Regions from separate parts of the Homo sapiens genome. Here regions 2, 3, 4, 5, 6 and 7 are each linked to region 1. Evidence: promoter capture Hi-C in 16 types of primary human blood cells and fetal thymus (Javierre and others, 2016). All regions are on one chromosome and are shown on one strand. The core of a region is centred on a gene start or on the middle of the fragment in contact, and the rest is flanking DNA. Distances in the headings are between cores, read along the strand shown.

What was found. Contacts are between HindIII fragments. The CHiCAGO score rates a contact against its expected background, and 5 or more counts as called.
Region 2: a fragment that was not itself captured here is called in contact with the fragment with the promoter of FOXO1 in region 1 in 1 of 17 cell types (fetal thymus); the score reaches 7.3 in fetal thymus.
Region 3: a fragment that was not itself captured here is called in contact with the fragment with the promoter of FOXO1 in region 1 in 17 of 17 cell types (naive CD8 T cells, fetal thymus, total CD8 T cells and 14 more); the score reaches 25.3 in naive CD8 T cells.
Region 4: a contact is called between a fragment that was not itself captured here and the fragment with the promoter of FOXO1 in region 1, in 6 of 17 cell types (M1 macrophages, erythroblasts, total CD4 T cells and 3 more). The highest score is 7.9, in M1 macrophages.
Region 5: a contact is called between a fragment that was not itself captured here and the fragment with the promoter of FOXO1 in region 1, in 1 of 17 cell types (total CD4 T cells). The highest score is 5.3, in total CD4 T cells.
Region 6: a fragment that was not itself captured here is called in contact with the fragment with the promoter of FOXO1 in region 1 in 8 of 17 cell types (naive CD4 T cells, endothelial precursors, total CD4 T cells and 5 more); the score reaches 14.7 in naive CD4 T cells.
Region 7: a contact is called between a fragment that was not itself captured here and the fragment with the promoter of FOXO1 in region 1, in 2 of 17 cell types (naive CD4 T cells and M1 macrophages). The highest score is 5.9, in naive CD4 T cells.

Annotation. Positions count from the first base shown.
Region 1 is chr13:40,665,039-40,668,845 of GRCh38, reverse strand. It overlaps FOXO1 (forkhead box O1), which reads left to right and starts at 2,205. Exons shown (of 3, transcript NM_002015.4): 1 at 2,205-3,263. The coding sequence starts at 2,634. RefSeq lists an enhancer at 1,317-1,366 and silencers at 2,017-2,546, 2,777-2,916, 3,007-3,056, 3,577-3,807. The HindIII fragment of the contact is 11,472 bases long and covers 1-3,807 here.
Region 2 is chr13:39,668,304-39,672,110 of GRCh38, reverse strand. All of the region lies in intron 4 of COG6 (component of oligomeric golgi complex 6), which reads right to left. Among named protein-coding and RNA genes, the nearest start is that of MIR4305, 6.1 kb to the right of the region's middle. The HindIII fragment of the contact is 580 bases long and covers 1,382-1,961 here.
Region 3 is chr13:39,683,973-39,687,779 of GRCh38, reverse strand. It overlaps COG6 (component of oligomeric golgi complex 6), which reads right to left. Exons shown (of 19, transcript NM_020751.3): 9 at 149-277; 10 at 1-72. Among named protein-coding and RNA genes, the nearest start is that of MIR4305, 22 kb to the right of the region's middle. The HindIII fragment of the contact is 168 bases long and covers 1,167-1,334 here.
Region 4 is chr13:39,706,085-39,709,891 of GRCh38, reverse strand. All of the region lies in intron 13 of COG6 (component of oligomeric golgi complex 6), which reads right to left. Among named protein-coding and RNA genes, the nearest start is that of MIR4305, 44 kb to the right of the region's middle. The HindIII fragment of the contact is 975 bases long and covers 1,490-2,464 here.
Region 5 is chr13:39,759,965-39,763,771 of GRCh38, reverse strand. It overlaps a transcript of COG6 not described here. Among named protein-coding and RNA genes, the nearest start is that of MIR4305, 98 kb to the right of the region's middle. The HindIII fragment of the contact is 3,599 bases long and covers 332-3,807 here.
Region 6 is chr13:39,777,890-39,781,696 of GRCh38, reverse strand. It overlaps a transcript of COG6 not described here. Among named protein-coding and RNA genes, the nearest start is that of MIR4305, 120 kb to the right of the region's middle. The HindIII fragment of the contact is 1,089 bases long and covers 1,490-2,578 here.
Region 7 is chr13:39,796,237-39,800,043 of GRCh38, reverse strand. No RefSeq gene overlaps it. Among named protein-coding and RNA genes, the nearest start is that of MIR4305, 130 kb to the right of the region's middle. The HindIII fragment of the contact is 5,023 bases long and covers 1-3,807 here.

The sequences.
Region 1 (3,807 bases), core at 956-3,455:
TTATAGGTTCTCTGTGCCTGCCTCGTCAATTTTTTTAAAGAAAGACCAAATAAAAGTAAACTATGACATTTGAAGAAACAATTGGGCAGGAGAGCCTCAAAGATTTCAAGGATTTGGGGAAAGTCTGTAGGAAGACTCCTTTAACCAAATAAATATTCTCTGACGCCCTGAAAAACCGGAATAGAAATGAAGGCAAGGCCAAATTTGAAGCTGGCTTCCTTTGCCAAGAATGATCCAGTAGGGCACCGCCTATTTTTAGGGTGCGGCTGTCTGGATCGGGGGCTGCTTCTGCAGAGTGTAATTGGAAAGGTGGGGGGAAGCAACAGCTGTACTTTGGGGGCCTGCCTTTGAGCTCATCATCTGAGTTACTGAGGTCCCCTAGCGGCTGTCAGAGGAGGCCCAGACTGTCCAAATTTGATAGTAAACGTGAAGAGACCACAAGACCAGGGTGGGAACCAGTCCCCGCCCGTCCCCAATCCATCCGGCTCACGCTCCCCACCCCACCCATGCCTAGTATCAGCAAGAAGCTGTTGTGATAAATAGATTATGAAGAAACAGGAGCCCGGACTAGAGAGACGATAGTGAGAATATAAAAGAAGAAAGATAATCTCTCTCAATCTTTTTAACTTTTGTAAGAGGCCTAATTTTTCCTTTTTTCCCCTCTTTTCTCTTTTATTTTTTCAACAACCTCTTGTCCAACTGACTAATTTTCTCTAGATGCCACTTTTTCCATTGCAGAATTACTTGTAAGAAAGAAAGGGATTAAAAAACAAGAGTTGGAAGCTGTCCTTTTGGACAAGATATTTAAAACCCTACTGTCCATCTTCCATCCTAAGTGGTCCCATCTTTCTAAAAGGAAATGCCTTCCATATTCTTCCTAAAAAAGCAAAAGCATAACAAAACAAAACTGGAAAACTGTTTCTTCTGCTTGAGACACAAGGGCCATTATCTTCCCACCTTTGGCCCCACTGATCCTTGACAGGATGTCCTGGACCTGCAGCCCAGATGAGGAAAGGTGGGGTGTGGGTGGGGGGTTGACTGACACACACAGCAAGTAGCCTCAAGGAATTTGGGGGTGGGGCAGGCTGCGCCCCAAGGCTTTGGTCCTATCTCCCGCCCCCCTTGCGTTTTTACTTAACACCCGATCACTTCCGTTGCAAATAAAAAAGAAGTAACAAACAGCTAAATTTAATTAGGGATAAGTAATAAAATGACCTGGTTCTCTCTAACTGCGCTCCTGAGCCCTTCGCTGCCGGCCCTGGACTTAGTGGACGGAGCGGGAGATTCCCGCCCAGGGGAAGAGGTTCCCACGGAGGGCATGCGGTCGCGGGTGCCTTTGGATTCGTGTGTTCAGGGAGGCCAGATAATCTCCTCCCCGCGCCGGAGCCCCTGTTCCTCATTTCTAGCATTTTAAAAAAGGTCAAGAATACAGTGAATCCGGCTGGGGGCTGCCGGCTGGGTGACGCGCCTCTGGCTAGACCGAATGGCACAGGCTGAGCCCGGGGGTGCGGACCGGTGGGCACGGAGAAGGGTCCCTCGGCGCGGACTCGACTGCAGGAGCCGCGGCGCCGGGGGTGGGGGGCGTGTGCCGCTCGCGAGGGGGCCGGAGGACTTGACAGATCGCAGCGAAAGAAAACATTAAACCAAAACAAAACCCACCGATTCCCCACGTCGTTCAGCAAAGACATCGTGGGTGGAGCCAGGAGGGAGCGATTGAGTAGAATTCCTCGCGGCCGCCTCCGCCCGCCCACCCCGCGCCCCCGGCCCTCGGCCCCCTGCCCTGCCAGCCCGCCGGGCTCGGCCCGCAGCGGAGGTCAGGGAGCAGCGAGCGCCTCCTCCCACCCGGGCTTCCCGAGTACTCGGCTCTGCTGCTCCGTAGTAAACAAAGTGTCGCCGGCGCCTCCACGCTGGTTTGCTTCCTAGCAATCAAAACACTGAGAAGGCGAGAGAATCACAGAAACACTCGAGAATTACCAGAAAATAATAGAGATCCAAAAAAAAAAAAAGGAGGTGAGTGTGTGAAAGAGAAAAACACCCCACTACCCCCCACCAGCCCACCGCCGCCTCCCCGTGGAAAACCGGGCCCCACCCAGCCCGGCGCCCACTGGCTGCCCGGGCGGCGGTGCCGCATGCCCATTGGCCGCGCGGGCTGTCGGTCAGGGGCGGGCCGGCGCGCGCGCCGCCGCGGGCGGGGGGCGGCGGCAGATCCCGTAAGTCGGGCGGCCTGGTAGTCGCAGCAGCCGCTGCCGCAGCCGCCACATTCAACAGGCAGCAGCGCAGCGGGCGCGCCGCTGGGGAGAGCAAGCGGCCCGCGGCGTCCGTCCGTCCTTCCGTCCGCGGCCCTGTCAGCTGGAGCGCGGCGCAGGCTCTGCCCCGGCCCGGCGGCTCTGGCCGGCCGTCCAGTCCGTGCGGCGGACCCCGAGGAGCCTCGATGTGGATGGCCCCGCGAAGTTAAGTTCTGGGCTCGCGCTTCCACTCCGCCGCGCCTTCCTCCCAGTTTCCGTCCGCTCGCCGCACCGGCTTCGTTCCCCCAAATCTCGGACCGTCCCTTCGCGCCCCCTCCCCGTCCGCCCCCAGTGCTGCGTTCTCCCCCTCTTGGCTCTCCTGCGGCTGGGGGAGGGGCGGGGGTCACCATGGCCGAGGCGCCTCAGGTGGTGGAGATCGACCCGGACTTCGAGCCGCTGCCCCGGCCGCGCTCGTGCACCTGGCCGCTGCCCAGGCCGGAGTTTAGCCAGTCCAACTCGGCCACCTCCAGCCCGGCGCCGTCGGGCAGCGCGGCTGCCAACCCCGACGCCGCGGCGGGCCTGCCCTCGGCCTCGGCTGCCGCTGTCAGCGCCGACTTCATGAGCAACCTGAGCTTGCTGGAGGAGAGCGAGGACTTCCCGCAGGCGCCCGGCTCCGTGGCGGCGGCGGTGGCGGCGGCGGCCGCCGCGGCCGCCACCGGGGGGCTGTGCGGGGACTTCCAGGGCCCGGAGGCGGGCTGCCTGCACCCAGCGCCACCGCAGCCCCCGCCGCCCGGGCCGCTGTCGCAGCACCCGCCGGTGCCCCCCGCCGCCGCTGGGCCGCTCGCGGGGCAGCCGCGCAAGAGCAGCTCGTCCCGCCGCAACGCGTGGGGCAACCTGTCCTACGCCGACCTCATCACCAAGGCCATCGAGAGCTCGGCGGAGAAGCGGCTCACGCTGTCGCAGATCTACGAGTGGATGGTCAAGAGCGTGCCCTACTTCAAGGATAAGGGTGACAGCAACAGCTCGGCGGGCTGGAAGGTGAGTGGACTCGGCGCGCGGCCGGACCTTGGGGGCGCGGTGGGTCAGGCGAGGGCGCAGCTGTGCAGGTTTGCTCGGCCTGAAGGTGCGGAGCAGGAGGGCAGCGCGTTCCCAGGAGGGCGGGCGAGAAGCGGTGGTCGCGGTGGCCTCGCCCGGGTCCGGTCGGGGACGGCAGTAGGTGTGCGTGCGCGCCAGTCAGGAGTTCGCGTGGGACGCGGTAAGGGGCTCGTTGGGGAACTAAGTAAAGAAAGTGCGCCAAGAAGTGGACGTCAGAGCGAGGCCGAAAAGTTTGCCAGTGAAAGGAGAAAGGGGTTCGCTGGGAGCGGCAACCCCCGGCCCGCGCCGACTGCTTCGGCTGCCCCTTCCCTCCCGGACCTCCGCGGGGGGAGGGCGGGTTCTCTCCGGCCGCGCCGCGGAGCTGTTTCCGCCGGGCGCGGCGGGGGAGGGCGCGGCGAGGGGCCCCGGAGCCTCGCTGCCCCGGGACCGGGCTGCAGGTGGAGGGGACAGGCAGGGCGCGACCGGCCGGGGACGGTGCAGGGCCTGC
Region 2 (3,807 bases), core at 422-2,921, 1.0 Mb after region 1:
TTATAAAGTAAGAGTCTCAAATATTAACAGGCAATGTCAGCTGTAACTATTTAAAATGTTAAAGTAACCATGTAGACATATTCAGTTGAAAAGTTTTCTGTGTAGAAAGGAGTGGGTACAAAGAGCATTAATACACTGCCTTTGCTATCCAGTTAAAATAGTCAAAGACCATAACGTCCAGCACTGTTGAGAAATCATAGGGCAGAAAATAAGTGCTAGAAGAATAATGTGTTGTGGGAGTACAAAGAAGGAACTAATTATTTTTTTTTCTGGTGACTGAGTAAAGGTTCCTGGCTGAACATGGAAAATATATAATAAAACTGTAAAGTACAAAGGTGAAATAAATTTCCTATAAGCTGAAGTATTTTTTAAAGTAAGCAAGACTTTCTTTGAAACATATATAGGTACATACATATATACATTCTCAAGGAACATGTACATGCATGTGTGACACAAACATACACATACATGATAGCCTAAAATTCTTAAGTTTTGTAAAATATTTTGAAATATATGATGGGCATAAACAACAGGGAACCTAAAATGACAAATGAGTTTTCAACAAATTAATTTTGGGAAATGGAATTCCAGGTAGAATGAATAAGAATATAGAAAAAGTCTACCTGGTTGATAAATGTAGTTAAATCAGGAAATAAACAGCAATAGCCACTTTAAATGAAGCGTGCCCACAAAAAAAAAGGAAGAAAAAAAAAAGCTCTTTTGTATTGGTGGGGAAAAAATGTTACGCAAAAAAAAGCTCTTTTTCATTGGTGGGGAAAATTTGATCAGACAAAATTTTCATTTAAAAAAATCCATACCATCTCCAAACCCAACTTTTAAAATACTTAAACCAAAGATTATTTCTAAATTTTTCCTCATACTATTTCCCTTACAGCATGATCATAATCACAAGAAATGGATAAGCCATACTGTGCCTTACCCCCAAATTTTTATTTCCAGTCCAATATGTGTGACTGAAATAAAGTTGTTATAGCTTATCTCAGTCAGGCTCCTGCATGTCACTGGCAATATTTCCTTTTGGATAGCTGCTACTATGTACAAATGAGACAAGAAGAAAGAAGAAAGGAGATGTGATGCTCCCCTGTTTTCCCCTAACCTTTTATTAGGTAATGAAAGAAAATGTGCCACATACGCTTCTGTAATATACTTTTACATGCAATATAAAACCATTTATGCAAGATAAAGTTTTATATTTTTATGCTACCAATTTCAAAACCTGAGTTAAAGTAGTTTACAATGCAATAAAAATAAATTAAAACTATTAAAAACTAAAATAGTAAGAAATAAAGGGAAAGGCTGAGAAAGTAAATCATACATCTGAGGAAAGCTATTGCAATTAAGCACAAAATAGCTCTAAGCTTCCTAGATGACAGAGCAAAAATAGAAATAAGATGAGTGACATAGATTTCTTTGTCTAATAAAAGGGGAGGACTAGGGAGGGGCAACAGTCTTTAATGTATGCCATGCAGTGTCTTCAGCAACTTACGTAAATAATTTAGTTATCTCAAAAACCCCATGACATAGATATTTTCCCCTTCCTTCTTTCAGACATAGAAACTTAGGTTAAGGGAGGTTAAGAAATAACTGTACAAAATCAAAAATCTAATAATCTCTTACCCAAGGTTTCGATTAAGATTCAGATTTTTGTCTTAAGTCCTATATTCTTTCCATTTTAACATACTGAACTTAAAAAAATACACACACATAAACATTCTCCAGAGATTATTTTTCTGAGTCCAGAGAGAATTCTGGCTGGTGGGCCTTTATAAGAGATAATAAAAATATAATAGTGATTTTAGTAGTATTTTAAAAATACAAAGGTATGTTCATGTACATATAGTCTTTCCTGATTATCAGTGAAGCCCATCGTCTGACTACCAATGAACTATTAAGGGGAAATGCTAACCTGCAGTCCTGTGAATAAAATTCTACATTAAGCTTTATCTATTAGAGCATCTCAGCTGTCCTGACGACTGACTTCCTTCTCACTCAGTTGGAAAAATATTCATATCATTCATACATTTGTCTGAATAAAAGTATCGTATTATTCAAATAATCCCATATAGAAACAGATTTCTATTTCTAAAGCTAACTGCTTGTTTAACAAAGTTTCTTGTTAAAAAGATATTTTAAAATGAAAAAACAACTCCCTGCCAGCCCCCAGAGACCTGTTATCATAATTTCTGCCTTGCAATTTTCCTAAAATACATTCACACAAACGTTCACTTGGCACATCATATCTATAGCTCTTGGGATACCAGAATGTCATAAATTTTCACTTCCCAAAAGCATATCAGGCCAAAACACTTCCACAGGCTTACTAAAATAATAAACATAAACCTTGCTTAAATAGTTTTGAGAACACATGAACAGAAGCACAATGTTCTAATATTGTCTCCTATATACATTATTTAGAGCCCCATATTACAAGCTCCAATACAATGCTTATTTTTCAGTTTTATGTTCCTTTCCTAACATTATAGTTGCTTTCCATATTCATTTACTCAAAAATTATTTATTGAATCTGTAAAATAGCAGGCACTGCAAATACAAAAAGGAGAATAAGAAATTGTCATTTTTCTCAAGGAGCTCACAGTTTAGGAGAAACAGAGACAATCAAATCAACGATTAGTTGCAAACAACTGTAATACCTATTACACTAAAAATTAAAACAAAAAGATTTAACTGAGAACAGGAAAAGTTTAAAAAGGCTTTGCATACAGGATTATTGATCTGTTATCCTCTTAGTTTTAATCACAATTTTCAATTAAAGTAATGCTTGTTTTTGTGTTCAGCATTAACTTAGAGAAAAATTAATGTCAAGGTCTCTAACAGGGAATGTGTTTTTCTAGGAAACTTTTCTTTCAAAAGAACTGTTATAAAATGCAATCTAATTTTATGGTGAAGGCACAGGCTTAATTCTGATAAAGAAATTTAACACTGCCTTTCCTCACAGAGCTGGCTGCTTTGCAGAGTCAACCATCTCCCACATGGGCTTAGTCTGCAACTTTTCTCACACTGTCCACCCACCAACAGGACACTATTTGTGGTGATGGAACTGTGTACTATATCGTGACTATGGTGGCGCATTCAGGAATCTACAAATGATAAAATGTATAAAAATAAATACACCAACGAGTAAAACTGCAAAATCTGAATAAGACAGGTAGATAGTATCAAGGTCATTATCCTAGTTGTGGTACCATACTATAGTTCTGTAAAATGTTACCTTTGGCAGAAACAAGGTAAAGGCTACCTTGGATCTCTGTATTGTTTCTTTTCTTTTCTTTTTTTTTTTTTTTGAGACGGAGTCTCGCTCTGTCGCCCAGGCTGGAGTGCAGTGGCGCGTTCTCAGCTCACTGCAAGCTCTGCCTCCCTGGTTCATGCCATTCTCCTGCCTCAGCCTCCTGAGTAGCTGGGACTACAGGTGCCCGCCACCACGCCCGGCTAATTTTTTGTATTTTTAATAGAGATGGGGTTTCACCGCATTAGCCAGGATGGTCTCGATCTCCTGACCTCGTGATCCGCCCACCTCGGCCTCCCAAAGTGCTGGGATTACAGGTGTGAGCTACGGCGCCCGGCCTTGTTTCTTACAACTGCATGTGAATCTATAATTATCTCAAAATATAAAGTTTAACATTTAAAAAGTTAAAATGTTTTTTCAAAGTTTACCAGTTAGGAGATGAGAGAATTAAGGTAGGGGAGAGGGACATTCCACAAAAAATTAAAAATATAAGTAATATTTTGTCTAAGGCCAGGTGTTTCAAATTATAGTCTCTGGACCAC
Region 3 (3,807 bases), core at 1-2,500, 980 kb after region 1:
AAGAGAGCTTCAAGGTGTTCCTTTTCAGAAGCAGTAGCTTGATGGAGCCAAGCCAACATATCTCCTACATACCTAATGAAAACTAAATGTTAATGAAGATTTCCTTTGGAAAAACATCAACTCCTCTTCTGCTGTCTGATTACTATACCTCAAAGGGTCATGAGAATGCATTTCAATTGGTCTAGGTGTACCTCCGGGGCCCCCTCTTGTGAGCGCATCAATAAATCCACGAACAACTGTACTTCTTCTGGCTGTTCCAAATTCATCTAAGGTATATCTAGAAGAAACAAGTTATATAAAAAATGGTTGGGGTTGTTTCTAGTGGCTATATCAGACTATTCACGCAATTTCTGAGACAACCAAGTACTTAAAAAGCACTTAAAGCTCCTTTAGATATTCGGTCAAGCAACATTGCTTTCAAACAAGAAAAAAATATTTAAGAGATAACTTCAGCTCATTGAAAATTCAATCAAAAAGTAAAAACTTTTACCCCTCCTAAGAAACAATGCTGGGATTTGGGACTAAAGCAGAGGCAGCAGTAATAAGGGATAAAGCAATGGACTTAGTAAAAGTAGGAAAATCAAGCCAAGGTGGGAAGACTTAACTTTTTAGGTTTCAGTATATTCACTATACTAGGTTTCGGTATATTTCAGTATACATATTTGCAGTCTAAAACATGATGCTCTACTGTTTTACGTAAAGCCATAACAGTTCTCAAAAACTGATTATAATTAGAACTCTGCAAATCCAAGGCTGGGTGCGGTGGTTCACACCTGCAATCCTAGCACTTTAGGAGGCCGAGGAAGGTGGTCACTGGAGCCCAGGAGTTTGAGACCAGCCTGGGCAAAATAATGAAACCCTTTCTCATTATTAAAAAAAAAAAATAGCCAGGCATGGTGGTGCATGCCTATAGTCCCAGCTACTCGGAAGGCTGAGGTAGGGGGATCACTTGAGCCCGTGAGGTTCAGGCTGCAGTTAGCAGTGACTGCTCCACTATACTCCAGCCTGAGCCACAGAGCAAGACCCTGTCTCAGAAAAAATAAAAGAATTCTGCAATCCCAAAATTGACATTTTTCTCTTCTACATTAAAAAAGTCTTCTTTACACATACTATCACAATCTATCACCAAAATTTGCTCCAAAAATTGCTATCCATCTTTAAAAGCTTATTTTGACTCCAATATTAGACATAACAGATGTTCCTTAAATTTACTGACCAAACACATATACAAGCAAATACCTTTTTAAAAAACATGTATTAAGAAGTCACCTATTATAATTGAAAAGGCATGGAAAGGCTTTCTAAGGTGAAGGAACTGGTAGGGAAGGAAAGCTTTTAACTGGGGAATAGGACAATTTGGGATTCAATTTATAAAAATGGCCTGGAGCTCTCTGGAGTGCCCATTTCTTTGACTTGACTCAGCCTTGTTTTCCATTATCACCACCATTCCTGACATCCATCCCTCAATTGAAAGTTCTTTCCATTTTAAAAGTATAAAGAAAAACAAAATATATTTTAGCAGTCTTGATGTCAGCAGATTCTAGACTAACTTTTAAATCTCTAAACAGTATTCTACCATACTAAATTTTAAGAATTATGTCAATAACCTATATATAAACAAAAATTACCAAAACTTCCCAAGATACCCAAAATAATTAATATCTTAGGCTACATAGCTTTCTTTCATATGCTGTTAATTGGATGAAAAATCCACATTTTGGTAAACATGTGAAAGACGGTTTATTTCCAAATCAAAGAGAAAGTCTGTAGAACTGGCAAATAGCTATAAATATTTAGGAATATGAACCTTTTTTGAGGACTGTTTACTATTAACCAGACTATGGTTCTTTGTGGGTTTGTCTTCCATTAAAAAGAAATGGTTTTGAGATTCCCTGTGGTGACATACTACAGAAAAGGGGAAGTGCAATATCCAGCTAAGTTTTGCTAAATTGCATAATTGCCTTGCATTTACTATTTTTTAAACAAATTAGAACCAAAATGCTCATTGCTATTTTTTCCCTCATGCTCTTAAATTATTAATCCATTTAGTGTGAAGAATGCCTTCTTTTAAATGATCACCTGATTCTCTGAAATAATGAACTTATGACTGCTTATCACAGCATAAAATTCACAAACGTTTAACTTTTTAAGTATATATAGCTAATCCTCATTCCCAAGACCCTACTAACTATATTAAAAATAAACAGCATAATTTGTTTCTAGGACTGTCCACTGGGACGACAGCTGTAACAGAATCCAGTGAATCTTAAAATCCAGTGTATTTTAAATAGGGGGTAAATTACCAAGCCTGGCAAACACTGGAATTTCATCTGTTCAATACTATAAAATATCAATAAACATTAATATTAATGTCAATCCTCCTATAGAACAAATATAATTTAAAGCAAAAACAGCATAAGCCACGTGAACCTTCAATATCTTTAGACATGAAACATCCTTCCCAGAGACAGAAGAAAAAGTCTTTGACCAAAATCAGACATTCTTCCAACAATAATCAAAAATCAAAATGGAGCTTTTTCAGAGTGAATGTTCAAATTATGTAAATATTCTCAAATACCTCAAGTTAAAATTAAAAGTCTCATTTTAAAAATTGTGTTTAGCTACAGTTAAAGAAATTCTGGTCAAAAAGCAAATTAAAAGAAGAAAAATTTTTATCAAAAAGCAAATTAAAAGATAATAGTAAAGAAGTGCCTCTTTGAAACACAACAAATACATAAAGAAGGAAGAAAAATCAGCATTGTATGTATTACTACATTTTAAAATAACTTATATTCTAAAGGCTTACCAAAGAAAATAAATTATCAAATTTTTTCACTTCATTTATAATTGTACATGATTTATTATTAAAAGTCAATAATGCATTAGCATTCCAGTTATACACCACATAAGAAACACTGAGTATGGCAACTTTCCCCACGGATTTCAATAATTGACATTTTTCTTGTATATAATACTTACATTATTTGAGACACAATAATGGACAGTGAAACTTTTATACATTACTTATTAAGTTCATATAGTGCCATCTGGTGGTTAACATGATACATTATTAAGTTTTCCCTAAATGTAAGGAAACTACCACTTTGAAAATAATTACTTAATGAAAGGCCAATTTTCTCTTTTTTAGCATTCATCTTGTTCTAATCATCTGGTCTTAAAAACTTACTTTCCTACTCAACTTCTAAATGTGTCTTAAAATCTTCCAAATTGGCCAGGCGCGGTGGCTCACGCCTGTAATCCCAGCACTTTGGGAGGCCGAGGCGGGTGGATCACGAGGTCAGGAGATCGAGACCATCCTGGCTAACACGGTGAAACCCCGTCTCTACTAAAAAATACAAAAAATTAGCCGGGCGAGGTGGCGGGCGCCTGTAGTCCCAGCTACTCGGGAGGCTGAGGCAGGAGAATGGCGTGAACCCCAGGGGGCGGAGCCTGCAGTGAGCCGAGATTGCGTCACTGCACTCCAGCCTGGGCGACAGCTAGACTCCGTCTCAAAAAAAAAAAAAAAAAAAAAAAAATCTTCCAAATTGCCATTACTGCCCCCTGCTTCTTAGCATATGCCCTTCACAGATAAACCTTCTTTGCCTATTATAGTTCCATTCTTTATCTTTCAAGCTTTTTCCCAGATTGCCATGTAGCCCTCAGATACATCCCTCCTTAGTTGAAAACTTTCTAGTCATCTCCTCTCAAAATAAAAATAATATCTAAAATTTAGTGATGTACCAAGCATTACACTAAGTGCCTTAAGTGAACAATCTAACTTAATCTTCACATCAACCCTGTAAAATA
Region 4 (3,807 bases), core at 728-3,227, 960 kb after region 1:
GAATGGATGGCCTTTACAATAAATGGTGCTGGATCAAGTGTATATCCACATGAAAATATGCACAATAGCGAAGATACGGAATCAACCTAAGTGCCCATCAACAGATGACTGGATAAAGAAAATGTGGTGTGTGTGTACATATAACACATATATATTTGTGGACACACACATATATGTGTTACATATCACATATACACACACACCACACATATACACACACACATATATATACACATACACTCACACCATGGAATACTATTCAGCCATGAAAAAGAATGAAATCATTTCTTTTGCAACAACATGAGTGGAACTTCAGGCCATAATCTTAGGTGAAATAAACAAAGTCAAATATTGCATGTTCTTATAAGTGGGAGCTAAATAATGTGTACACATGGACACAGAGTAGAATAATAGACAATGGAGACTCAGACAGGTTGGGAGGGTGGGAGGGGAATGGGGGATGAGAAATTACCTACTGGGTGCAATATACAGTACTCAGGTGATGATTACACTAAAAGCCCAGACTTCACCATTACATAATATATAAATGTAACATGACTGCATTAGTATCTCATAAATTTATAAAAATTAAAAATAAATAAAAGGAAAATGTTAAAAGGAACTATTATGTATGGAACATCCACCAGGAAGTAGGCACAGGCTTAGCAATTAGGCAGACCTGGATATATATTCACCCTTAGTGACTATGTGACCTAGGGCAGGTTAATCTACGTTGACTGTGCCGTAATTCTTTGTTTTACATTTAGTAAAAACTCAATTACATAGTGACAACTTACTGAAAGTCATAATGATTGGAAAAGTTAGAATTTGAGTACAGCTCTATCAGACTCCAAAGCCCAGGATTTCTCCTTGAGCCATATATTGCCTTTCTAATGCGGAGCCCCATCAATTGCTCACCCGAGATAAGTATCCCCAACAAACTCAGACTGAATCTTTAATTTAAGAAAGGCTATACCTGCATCGCAGCACAAAAACCACCTGCAACTACACTACTGGTACTAAGACAACCAATTATTAAATATCAACTTAACTGGAAAAAAACATAAAAGTCTCAGGTAACCTAAGAAATACATATGTAGCTAAGGACAAAGATGACTGAGAAGATTAGCTTCTAAGGCTCTTCTAGTTTTTCAATCTATCAAACATCTGTTGAAGACCTACTATGAGAACATGGTATTAGGTATTGTTATATTTTACCAGACATTACGACACGGATCAAGGCCAAAGGCAAGAAAAATTGAAAGCAAGGAAAATAAAGTAATTTAAACAACACACACACACACAAATTAAACTTGACCCCTACCTTCATACCATACTCAAAAATTTGAGATGGATTGAAGGCCTAAATGTGGAAGCTAAAATAATCAAGCTTCTTAGAGAAAAATACAGAAGAATGTCCTCATGACCTTGAGATAGCCAAAGATTTCTTAAACAGGACACAAAAGGAACTAATCATGAAATAAAAGCTTGTTATACAAGACTGAATTAAAAATTGAGAATTTCTGTTAATCTAATACATGACTAAGAGAGTGAAAAGACAGTTCAAAAAGTGATAGAAAATATCTGTGATGCTTATTATTCCATAAAGGACTTGTATCCAAACACATGTTTGAAAACTCTTATAAGTCAATAAGAAAAAGGTAACAACCCAGTAAGGACTCTCTGCAACAGTCTTTAAAAGACAACTTCAAAAGAAAGTACATCCAGCAGCCAATAAACATGAAAAATTGTTCATCACCATTAATCTTGAGAAAAATGCAAACTACAAGCAAATGAAATACCACCACACACTTTCTACAATGCCTAAAATTAAAAAGACTAACAACATCACGTACTGGAGAGAATGTGGAACAACTGAAACTCCCACATTTCTGGTGAAGTGATCTAGGACAATTACTTTGGAAAAATACTTAGCAATATCTAGTAAAGCTAATCAATCTTATAATCCAGATATTCCATTTCTGGGCATACATACAAGAGAAATAAAAACTTATGTCCACCAACACATGTATAAGACTATTAATAATAGCTTTATTTACAATATCCAAGAACTAGAAACATCCCAAATGTCCATCAGTAACAGAATGAGTAAATTGTGGTGAATATATATAATGAAATTACTACACAACAATTAAAAAATGAACTACTGAACATGCAAAATATATGAATCTTACAGATATGTTAAGTCAGGGCCAAAAAAGTATACACTGTATGAATCTATTTACATGAAGTTAATAGCAGGCAAAACAAGAGACAGTAGTCAGACAGCAGTTTACACCGGGGTTAGATATTGACTGGGAAGGGGAAAGAGGATGCCTTCTGAAGGGCTAGAAATGTTTTATATCTTATCTGGGTGATAGCTAATGAGCATATGCAAATACAAACATTCAACTAACTGTATACTTTAGACTTGGGTACTATATCTGCAGTTAAAAATAAAGCTTGGCTGGGTGCAGTGGCTCATGCCTGTAATCCCAGCACTTTGGAAGGCTGAGGCGGGCGGATCATGAGGTCAAGAGATAGAGACCATCCTGGCCAACATGGTGAAACCCCGTCTCTACTAAAAATACAAAAATTAGCTGGGTGTGGTGGTGCATGCCTGTAGTCCCAGCTACTCAGGAGGCTGAGGCAGGAGAATCACTTGAACCCGGGAGGCAGAAGCTGCAGTGAGCAGAGAGATTGTGCATTACACTCCAGCCTGGTGACAGAGCGAGACTCTGTCTCAAAAAAAAAAAAAAGTGAGCTCATTTGTTCTTCTTCTTCTTTATATTATTGTACATACTAAACATCAAGTCATTATTATTAAATACTTATTTCAAAATTTGAATATTTTCTAAGTGACAAAGTTGAAGTATACAGAAAAATTTCACATTTAAAAGCATTTAAAGGCCAGGCATGGTGGCTCATGCCTGTAATATCAGCACTTTGGGAGGCTGAGGTGGGTGGATTGCTTGAGACCAGGAAATCAAGGCCAGTCTGGCCAACATGGTGAAACCCTGTCTCTACTAAAAATACAAAAATTAGTTGGAGATGGTGGCGGATGCCTGTAACCCCAGCTACTCGGGAGGCTGAGGCAGGAGAATCGCTTGAACCCAGGAGGAGGAGGTTGCAGTGAGCCGAGATCACACCACTGAACTCCAGCCTGGACGACAGAGACAGACTCTGACCCAATCAATTAATCAATCAATAATTTTTTTAAAAAAAGCATTTAAGCTATTGAAAACTTCATATTCCATATATTAGAACCTCTCTTTTTTTAAATGTGTAGAGCTATACACAAAAGTCCTCATTGTTCTTGTGACTATTTACTTTTTATCCCTTCTGTAGTTTAGGTGCTCTGACTTTTACTAGAGAAAAATAAAAAGGTTGCACCATAAAAATTCCAAAAGCTGTTCCTACAACTTCATCCCACTACCAACTTTAGTTTTATTCTTTCAGCTATCTTCCATTTAAGGTCCTATAATTTTCTGTTGTGTAGCTTCTTAGAAGGCCCTTCGCCCATTTGCTTTCAAAAAATAAAGACTAGCCAACCAAACACAAAGTTCTCATATTTTTAAACTAATTTCCTCATTCTCTCTCTATATATATTTAAATATATATATATATATATATATAAAGGAGTATATATATATATAAAGGAGTATATATATATATAAAGGAGTATATATATAAAAGAAGTGTGTGTGTATATACATATATATAAATATATACATTCCTTTTGCTCTAAATACATACATTCTAGTAATTGACAATATGTGGAATTTAAGTTTTTAAGTCAATAAAATT
Region 5 (3,807 bases), core at 882-3,381, 900 kb after region 1:
GACCACTGGGTTTATTTCAGAAATGCAAGGCTGATGTTTGAAATTCTCCATATTAAGTAAGTAAAAGGGGGGAGGCACAGATATCAATTCTCCCCAAATTGATACTTAGAGTCAAAGTAATCCCAACCACATTCCCAACAGTTGTTGAAGAAATATAGGTGGATTCTCTATTATTTTTCTGTATTGATCTCTAAATAGATACAGAAAAAAAATTGATAAAATTCAATACTTATTTGTTATTTAAAATAATCATGACACACCAGGAACAGAAAGGAACTTTCTTAATTTGATAAAGCTTATCTACAAAATACCTATCTAACAATTGAAAGCTTCCTCTCCTTCCCCACATTTTGGAAAAAGACAAGGGTGACCGCAATTACCATTTCTATTCAACTTTGTAACACTGTAAATGGTTAAACATTATGTAGTGCCACATAGCAAGAAACGATAAAAAGGTAGAAAGAAAACTGTCACTAATTATATAGATTGTGTGCTTGCCAATTTAGAAAATACAAAATAATACACAAATAACGCTTACAATTAATAAGTAAATTTAGCAAGGTTGCTACTAAATATACAAAAACATACAAAACTAAATCCAGTGATTTATACAGAAAGGGAAAATAATATGATCAACTTAGGCTTATTTTGGGAATGCAAGAGTGATTTAATGCCAGGAAAATTATAAATATAATTCATCACATTAACAAATAAAGGAGAAAAGCCAAGTGATCATCTCAATAGATTCTGAAAGTCACTTAAAATTCAACGTCCATTCATAATTAATAACAGCATGTGAGAATACAAAATAACTTCCTCTCTGATAAAGATTATCTGCTGAAAACTTAGAGCAAGTATAATTCTTTATGGTGAGATACTGAAATCTGAATTAAGAAAAGTAACCATTATCATTGCTATTAGTTAACATTCTGCTGGAGGTTCTAGCCAGCATAAAAGAAAAGAAAAAGAAATAAAGGGTACATAGGCTTCAAAGAAAAAAAAAAAAAAAACTCTTATTTTGTCTCAAATAGATCTATATAGAGAAAACTCAAAGAAAAATCACGGAAAATAATATTATGAAGGTGCCTCGATCTATTATAATCAACATATAAAATCAATTCCACTTATTTTTTAATTGTACTTATTTATGGGGTACAGTGTGATATTTTGATACATGTATCCATGTGTAATGATCTAACAGGGTAATCAGCATGTCCATCACCTCAAATGTTTATCATTTCTGTAAGACACATTCAAAATCTTCTAGCTACTTGAAAATATACAATAGATTGTTGTTAATTACAGTCACCCTACAGTGCTATAGAACACTAGAACTTATTTCTACTATTTAGCTGTACTTTTGTATCCATTAACCAACCTCTGACTATCCCCACTCCCATCTCCTTACATGTCCCTGCCTCTAGTATCAATTATTCTACTTTCTACTTCTATGAGATCAATGTTTTTATCTTTCACCTGAGTGAGAACATGCAGTATTTATATTTCTGTGCCTGGCTTATTTCACTAAATATACAATGTCCTCCAAGTTATCCATGTTGGCACAAATGAGATAATTTTGTTATTTTTTATGGCTAAATAGTATTCCACTGCGTATATATGCCACATTTTCTTTATCTACTCATCTGTTAAAGGACACAAGTTGATTCCATATCTTGGCTATTGTGAATAGTGCTGCAATAAACATTGGAGTAAAAATAAAATGTCTCTTCAACATATCCATAATTCCCTTTAGATATATACCCAGTAGTGAGATTGCTGGATCATATGGTAGTTCTATTTTTAGTTTTTAGAGGAATCTCTATACTGTTTTCCATAGTGGCTGGACTAATTTACAACAGCATATGCATTCCCATTTCTGTGCATTCTTGTCAACATTTGTTATTTTTTCTCTTTTTGATAATAGCCAAAATGAGATAATATCTCATTGTGGTATTGGTTTGCATTTCCCTGATGATTAGCGGTGTTCAGCATTTTTTTTTTTTTCATATACCTGTTGGCCACTTGCGTCTGGTTTTCAGAGATGTTTATTTGGCTCTTTCGCCCATTTTTAAAATTGGATATTTTTGTTGTTGTTGCTCAGTTGTTTGAGGTCCTTGTATGTTCTAAATATTAATCCCTTGTCAGATGAATAGTTTGCAAATATCTTCTGAAGGTTGTCTCTTCACTCTATTGATTATTTCTTTTACTGTGCTGAATCTTTTTAGTTTGATATAATCCTATTTGTCCATTTTTGCTTTTGTTGCCTATGCTTTTGAGGTTTTCTCCATAAAATCTTCACCCAGGCCAGGGTACTGAAGTGTTTCCCATATGTTTTCTTCTAGTAGTTTCATACTTTCAGGTCTTACATTTAAGTCTTTTATCCATTAGGGGTCTAGTTTCACTTTCTGCATATGAATATCAGTTTGCAACTGCTGTACATAGAAGTCAATTCCATTTCTATATACAGCAACAAATAAGTTTAAGTGTAACTTAAGAATAGATATCATTTACAAAACAAGAACTATAAATTTCTTAGGAATAAACACCAAAGTTTTCTTAGATCTATATGAAGAAAATTACAGTGTTTTTGAAGGACATTAAAACTACCCTAATAAGGAAATTTTGACATGCTGTGATTTGGATTAATCTTATAAAGATATCAATTCTCCTCAAATTGATACATAGAGTTGAAGTAATCCCAACCATATTCCCAATAGCTGTTGAAGAAATATAAGTGGATTCTCTATTATACTGACAAATTTACATTGCTATTTGTGGAACAGCAGAAAGCCAAGAATGGCTAAGGCACTCTAGATGAAAAAAAGAAAATGAAGCACTGTGCCATATATTGAGACTTTCTATAAAGTTATAATAATGGCATTCGTTGTTGGTGCAGGAATGAATAAACCTATAAAAAGAGTGCAGTAAAAATACATAAATTTATTCACATATGGGAATTTGATGTATGACAGAGATGGTACTAGCCTTCCCCCACCATTATCACACACAGAAAGAAGGAAGCAATACTAATTCTGCACCATTCCCCAAAGACCTGAGGTTACAAAGAGCAACACTAGAGCTAATGATTTACCACTTGCAGAGAGTCTTTTGGTAAATCATAGTAGTGTGTTTGCACATTTTTTGGTTAATGCAAATTCTATTATGGTTTGTTATTGTATGATTCATTATATTAACCTATTAATAGTTCAGTGGAGAAATTATTTTCTTTTTTGTAAGATTTAGAATAAAGGCAGGGTACATTGAGATGTTCTTTCTGTTTTTGTGGTTTATTTTCTTTTTTAGCAGCACCTTTTTGGCTTTTTAATGCTTGGCTTGCTTATATCTTTGTCTGTAAAAGAATCTAATAGTTTAAAGCAAGAAAAATTCCTAGTCTGCAATTAAATACGTATGGCAACTATGTGGAATACTAATCAAATCTTTGGTGTCCTTTCTAAGGTAAATTCATTTTTCTACCTCAGTTCAATCTTCATTATCATTTTACATTCCACTGGAGGCCCAGCTAGCACAACAATGGCCAGCTCTTGCCTGAATCCCGAAAATTAGACTTATATAAATGATACCCCCAGAAAGACTCGGGGCAATCTCAAAACAGGAGACCAATTTTTGATGCTGGCTTGCATTCTTGCTTCTTGTCATTTTGCTTTTAGTAGGCCAAAGCTAATACTTCTCCAGTGGAATTTCAGATGTTGACATTGATGGAAACAAAGAACATATTTAAGTAAATTAATTTCCTGGTAGTAAAGTTATAAACTTTGAAATCCTAGACTGGCTTAAACTTTCACTGTT
Region 6 (3,807 bases), core at 785-3,284, 890 kb after region 1:
GCACACTTCAGCTATTCAAACCCAGACAGAGGAAATGGGGGAATTGGGGTGGGAGAAGGATGGGGCTTAGAAAATGAATAAAAAGAGAAAGTGGCCCAAAACTCTTTGCTGTGGCTCTTCATGCAATGAAAGCCTGCATTGTGTCAAGCTGTGAGTCAAAATAAGAAGGTTATTCAGCGATCACAGCCTGCATCTAAAATATGAAATAGTTCCATTCCAGCCATTTAGTTTCTCATACTAAAAAAAAAAAAAAAACCCTCCGCATTTGCTCCTACTTTTTTCTGCAGCCCACAGTCATTTCATATTTTCAGGGGAAAAACAAATGTTAACTTTTAAAAACCTCTCTTCTCTAACCTGTCAACTGATTTTGCATGTTCCAGTGAATTGGGATGAATGCTTGGACCTAATTTGATGTTTGCCAAAAAAGAGTCCTCCAGCCCTCTAATAAGCGCCCATGTATTATGTGGGTAGCAGCTCTCACCTCCCCTTCTCTTCTCTAAAACAGCTCCCCTCTGCATCCTTGTCCCCACCCCCAGGCCCTTCACCTCCATTTATTTTCCTTGGATGAGAGTCTCACAGTGAATAGGAAACATCTTTAAGAAGGGGAGAGGAGTTGTGAAAGAGATTTAGAGGCCAAATGGGGCTCTTGGAGAAAAAAGAATTCAGAACCGTTGATATAACTCAATGGCATTCATGCAAAGAGTTGCAGAGAGTAATGAACTTTTTACTTAGTTAGCAACAGTTCATCCAATGTCCTAGACTAATTTGAGGCCATTTTCCAAGAAGAAAAGAAAGCTATGCAGTTCACAGCCACGCATCTGTGCACAGTAACGAGAGCCATCGCCTTTCCTCGTGCAGATTTTTGTGCAAGGAAAAGACTAGCTCTTATCTTTGTTTCTCTGCCCGGGTCCTTGTGTGGCATTTTTTCATATGACTAAACACAAGGGGAAATTAAATGGCTCATATTCCATTCTGAAGGGTAAGTTTTGCCTGAAAAATTATGTGCTATAACTTGAAAATAATATTCTATGTCCAGATGCCCTCAGACCTCCCTAAATAATAGGAGTGTTTATAAAACATACAAGCATTTATCCTAAAGCCAAGTCTTCTATTAAGTTGGCTGAAAGTGTAATACGTTGAGAACCCATGGGGTTTCTTTTGTCATTTCTTCCATATTATTATGGATATTAGGCCAAAAATAGTATTTTTTACTTCTTGTATTAATAAATTAATAAATTACTTCACCCCAGACATTGTCTTTGAATAGAAGGGACATTTCTTTCAGGGAAGGGTCAGCTGCCAGGGCATGCATGCCTGAGGGTAACATTTAGACTACTGGTGGTCTTGCCTTCCTTGGTGCCAGCCATCATGTTGCTTTATATATTCAAAAGCAAAGTTCTGAACATTTAAATTTAATTTGGTCAGATATCAGGAGTTGGGATATTCTGATCCTATCAAACATCTTCTTTTCCCTTTTTGAAAGCAAGCTTGTTGGTGTGACGGCTGTACTTGAGAAAAGTAGGCAAAAAAGTAGATTTTGGTTTCTAGTTCGAACTCAATGCATTTGTAAGTCAAAAATTCAAAACTCTTTTCTCAGTCAATTTCCTGACACATGTTCTTGGAATGTCACTGTGGACTTTGACTGGAGCAGATAGCAATTATTTTCTTTAAGTCCTGCATGGGTTAAAATTCTATTCATTCTTCATCCATCAGCAAGTTTCTTCCAATTTAAGAAATACTGTGACTTGCCTAGAGTAGGTGCCTAATAAATGTTTCTTAATTTTATTTAATCTAGGATAATATCTCTATGGACTATTTGGTAGCCAGATTCTTGAGCATTCTTGTAACGTTTGTTCATGATACCTCAATTCTCAGAGGTGAAATTGAGGTGAATGATGCTGAAGTGATTTCTGGCCCTGGGTCCCCTTCCTGTGATGTCAGAGACACAGCTTTCTGAGGTGACTTTAGGACAGAACCCTGGAGAGGTCTTCGTTCAATGAAGCCACGTTAAGAATCTGAAAGGATCTATTCAAGGGTTCCTGAATTGCTCCTCATGCCTGCAGCTGAGATTTATGCCTCTGATTTCAGCAGGACCCTGGGTGCCATTTGGTCTTTCTCATCTCCATGATGTTGAACCTGAGAAGTCACATAGCCTGGCTGGCACTTTTCCAGACCACTTCCTCTGATGAGAAAAGAAAAACAAGGCTTTGTGACACAGAAGAATGCATGCTGCCTGTCCTGGATCTGCAGCCTAGGCAAAACAGTATCCAGGTTCTGCAAAGCCCAATAGGATGATGTGGAGATAACACCGTTGCTTATAGGAATGATCGATTTAAGAGACACACGTGACTGATGCCAGCATCTTTTGTTCTTGTCTCTGGATTAGCTCTATCACAGGTCAAACAGACTTAGAATAGAATTAGTAATCAGCATCATTGCTAATCTTACTGAAAGCACTTACCATACACCCTGCACTGTTTTAAGCTCTTTACATTGATTTATTTTATCCTTACAACTCTATAAAGCAGATACTAATGTCATTTCTATTTTACTGGTGAAAAAATTGGAGCATAAAGCTTTTAAATAGATTGCTCAAGGTCACGCAGTGTGACAGTTTACAGTAGCATGCAAATTTTTTGACACTCCTCTCTTCAAAAAGTGGAGTATAATTTTCCTTCTCCCTTGATTTGAACCAGACTTAGAGACTCAATTCTAATAAAAAGCATATGGTGGAAGTGAGGGCATATGCTTCTTAGGCTAGGATGTAAGACACTACTCCTTCTACCTGGCATTCTCATGGATTTCTCACTTTCAAGGAAGCCAGGCATCATGTGGTGAAGACTCTCAGGCAGCCTGTGTGGAGGCCCACAAGGGGAGGACCAAAACCAGACCAACGTGTCAGCCATGTGGATAAGCCACCCTGGCAGTGGCTCCCCTCCTGCCCCAGTCAAGCCTTCAGATGACAACAACCATGATAGCCCCTGAGGCAAAACTGCCCAACTATGCCACTTCTGAATCTCTGACTTAGAGAAACTGTGAAATAATATTGTTTTAAATAACTAAGTTTGAATAATTTGTTCTGTTTTCACAGATAACTAATACAGCTTCTAAGTGGCAAAGTCAAGATACCAATCCAGGGGGGTCTGAAGGCAGAATCTACACGTTACTGCTATATCCTCTCCTGATACTAAGGAGATTATCAATAAGCTCACATTCTGGCAATACATGTTCAGTAAATGTTTTATCTAAGCTGCAGCAAATTCTGATGTGTTTTTAGACACTTAGAAATCAATAATGCACATGAGCTACATAGTCCCTTCTTTCATTGGTTGTTATGAATTAATGCTGGTCAAGGCCTTTTGCCCTATGCTGCCTTTTCTAGGCTCTAGGCAGACACTACCTTTCCATTACACATTACTTCAGAGAAGCCTGTTACAATTATAATTAGTCAGATTATAGCATCCTTTAGGGTCCTTCCTGTCCTGAGAATACACCATAGTCACTTTACCCAAATTGGATATGTATTAAATCTATCAACCTCAAGTATTAACTATTTTTTATAAACTATTCCTTTTAGGCTGGGAGGAAAATATAAGTAACTCATCTCTTAGACAGGATAACTTCTGCACATAGTTATTTCCTATAATGTGTTGATTAGGACTGCTTAACTCTCAGAAGATTGACTCTTTGCTGCCACCTTGCTGATACCATGAATGTTAATGCCCATGGCACTGGGCTTTGCACAGAGTGGATATTCAGTAAATGGGTAGTTCTTGTTTCTCTCCCACATATGCAGTTAGGAGCACA
Region 7 (3,807 bases), core at 478-2,977, 870 kb after region 1:
CTCTACTAAAAATACAAAAAATTAGCCCTGCATGGTGGCAGGTGCCTGTAATCCCAGCTACTTGGGAGGCTGAGGCAGGAGAATCACTTGAACCTAGGAAGTGGAGGTTGCAGTGAGCCGAGATCACACCATTGCACTCCAGCCTGGGAAACAAGAGCAAAACTCCATCTCAAAAAAAAAAAAAAAAAAAATTTAAGAAGTTAGTTGGATGATTTATGTTCCAGATCCCTGAGGAATCGCCACACTGACTTCCACAATGGCTGAACTAGTTTACAGTCCCACCAACAGTGTAAAAGTGTTCCTATTTCTCCACATCCTCTCCAGCACCTGTTGTTTCCTGACTTTTTAATGATCGCCATTCTAACTGGTGTGAGATGGTATCTCACCGTGGTTTTGATTTGCATTTCTCTGAAGGCCAGTGATGATGAGCATTTTTTCATGTTTTTTGGCTGCATAAATGTCTTCTTTTGAGAAATGTCTGTTCATATCCTTCGCCCACTTTTTGATGAGTTTGTTTTTTTCTTGTAAATTTGTTTGAGTTCATTGTAGATTCTGGATATTAGCCCTTTGTCAGATGAGTAGGTTGCAAAAATTTTTTCCCATTCTGTAGGTTGCCTGTTCACTCTGATGGTAGTTTCTTTTGCTGTGCAGAAGCTCTTTAGTTTAATTATAAATCATGCTGCTATAAAGACACATGCACACGTATGTTTATTGTGGCACTGTTCACAATAGCAAAGACTTGGAACCAACCCAAATGTCCAGCAATGATAGACTGGATTAAGCAAATGTGGCAAATATACACCATGGAATACTATGCAGCCATAAAAAATGATGAGTTCATGTCCTTTGTAGGGACATGGATGAAGCTGGAAACCATCATTCTCAGCAAACTATCGCAAGGACAAAAAAACAAACACTGCATGTTCTCACTCATAGGTGGGAATTGAACAATGAGAGCACATGGACACAGGAAGGGGAACATCACACACCGGGGACTGTTGTGGGGTGGGGGGAGTGGGGAGGGATAGCATTAGGAGATATACCTAATGCTAAATGACAAGTTAATGGGTGCAGCACACCAACATGGCACATGTATACATATGTAACAAACCTGCACGTTGTGCACATGTACCCTAAAACTTAAACTATAATAATAATAAAATAAAATAAATTAGTTGGGCGTGGTGGCACATGCCTGTGTTTCCAGCCTCTAGGGAGGCTGAGGTGGGAGGATTACTTGAGCCTGGGAGGCGGAGGTTGCAGGAAGCCGAGATTACGCCACTGCACTCCAGTCTGGGTCACAGAGTGAGACTCTGTTTCAGGAAAAAAAACACAAAAATCCCACAAACAAACAAAAACCTTACATATTATTTCTTTCTTCTATACTCTTTTCATTACTACTTCTGCTGTTTTCCATGTACCTCCATTTCCAAAAAAAAGATTTCCTAAGTAAAAGTAAAAATACTTGGGATAAGTTATACCCCAAATAAAGCATGGCTGTTTACTAAATATAATAAACCACTTAGGAAAACCATTTTGGTAAACCATTGATTTTTGAAATTTAAATATTGGAATCAAGAAGGAAACAAACCTCCAAGAGGCTACATTCAGGTGAACCTCTCCAGCTTATTTGAGCTCAAACCAAAGTGATAGATTAGCTTAACAACAATCTTTCCAGAAAGTTGTATAGTTTCCCAATTACATTTTATTAGTTTGATTGAAATCTACTCTCTTTTTAACTACTTTTCTTCATTTGTTGAATATGTATTTGTTATGAACTGAATGTTTATATTCTCCTAAATTCATATGTTGAATTCCCAATGTGATGGTATTTGAAGATGGGACTTTTGGGAGACAATTAGGTTTAGATAATATCATGAGGGTGGGGCTTTCATGATGGAATTAATGCCCTTCTAAGAAGAAATATGAGAGCTTGCTCTCTCTCCAAGGCCACCACCTCACCTGCCATGTAAGGACATGGCAATAAGGTGGCCATCTACAAGCCAGCAACAGAGCCATGCTGGTACCTTGGGCTGAGATTTCTAGCCTCCAGGAATGTGAGAAAGTAAATTTCTGTTGTTTAAGCCGCCTAATCCATGGTATTTTGTTATGGCAGCCTGAGCAAATTAAGAAGTATTTACTGAGCACTTTCTATGTGCCCAGTATTGGGGTAAATGCTGAATGTGAAATAAAAGTAAGACACAGTCATTGATCTTAAGAATCAGAGTCTGTCTTGGGCAACTGACATATAAACCAGTAATTTAATACCAAATGATCGGTGCTGCAGTAGGCCAAAACACAGAGCCCTGTGTGAGTACAGAGGAGAAAGCCTTCATATCTGCTATCATCCAGTGGCTCTATTTCATGTTCGAAAATGTCCTTAAGCCTCTTATAATTCAAAAATTCTGAGGTCCTGCCTGCATGATGGTGAGTTTTCATGTTGTGTGTTTGGGACTCATCTCCTATCTTTTAATGCAAGATGCATCAGTGCATGAGTTAATGTCTCTGTATTTTCTTCCCAGTTTGGCATTTGACCAGACTTTGGGATAGTCACACCTCTCCAGCTTTTTGTCAGTTTTTCCATCTGTAAATTGAAATGTTAATATTTATCATAAACTTCTGTACATGGATAAATTAAACAATAGGATAGCGCTCAAAGTGGGAAGGGTAAAAACAAGCAAGAAGATTCGTATTCCATTAAGGTGATAAAAATGATGTAGGGCAATAAATAACAAATAAAATTGATAAGGCTAATTCTCTTAAGTCAGTGCTTGTTAGATTACGATGGGCACATAAAGCACATGCAGCTCTTGTTAAAATGCAGGTTTTGATTCAGAAAATCTGGGATCGTCTCAAGATTCTGTGTTTCTAACAGGCTCCCCAGGTAGGCCGATGCTTCTGCCAGGTAGACTACACTATGAGCAGCAAGATTTCAATGATTTCAGGCCCTACTGTAAGTGCAGGTATAATTTTCATAATTTCTAAATGTTTATTTACTTACCAGAGCCACTAAGGCATCACTTAAGATGGTGGTTCTCAAACTTTTTGGTTTCAGAACCCCTTTTACAATCTTAAAAACTACTGTGGAGCGCTTATATCTACCTGTACTTACCACATTTGAAATTAAAATTGAGAAAATTTTAGAACACAAGAGTATATCACCACATATCGTATTATTTTTCAGACTCATCATGTTATTCCATATCCTGTAGCCTCAAGAAAACACTACTCTACACTCATGAGAGACTGAGAATGAAAAAGCAAATGGTGTTTACTACTATTATGAAAATTCTTTTGACCTCCCTGATCCCTTGAAAGAAATGGCTGATTAAGACATTTTCCTTCCTTCCTCCCTTCCTCCCATCCTTCCCTCTCTCCCTTCCTCCCTTCCCTTCCTCTCTGCCCCCCTCCCTCCCTCCCTCTCTGCCCCCGTCTCTCTTTCTTTGTTTTTTGTTTCTTTCTACATAAGATCTCATTCTATCACCCAGGCTGCAGTGTAGAGGTGCAATCGCAGCTCACTGTAGCCTAGAACACCTAAACACAAGTGATTCTCCTGCCTGAACCTCCTGAGTAGCTGGGACTACAGGTGTGTGCCACCACGCCCGGCTAATTAAAAAAAAAAAATTTTTTTTTTTTTTTTTTTTTTTTTTTTTTTTTTTTTTTTTTTTATAGATAGTATCTCACTATATTGCTCAGGCTGGTCTCAAACTCCTGGCCTCAAGTGATTCACCTGCCTGGGCCTCCCAAAATGCTGGGTTTACAGGTGTGAGCCACTGCACCTGGCCAAGACATTGTTCTTTCAATATA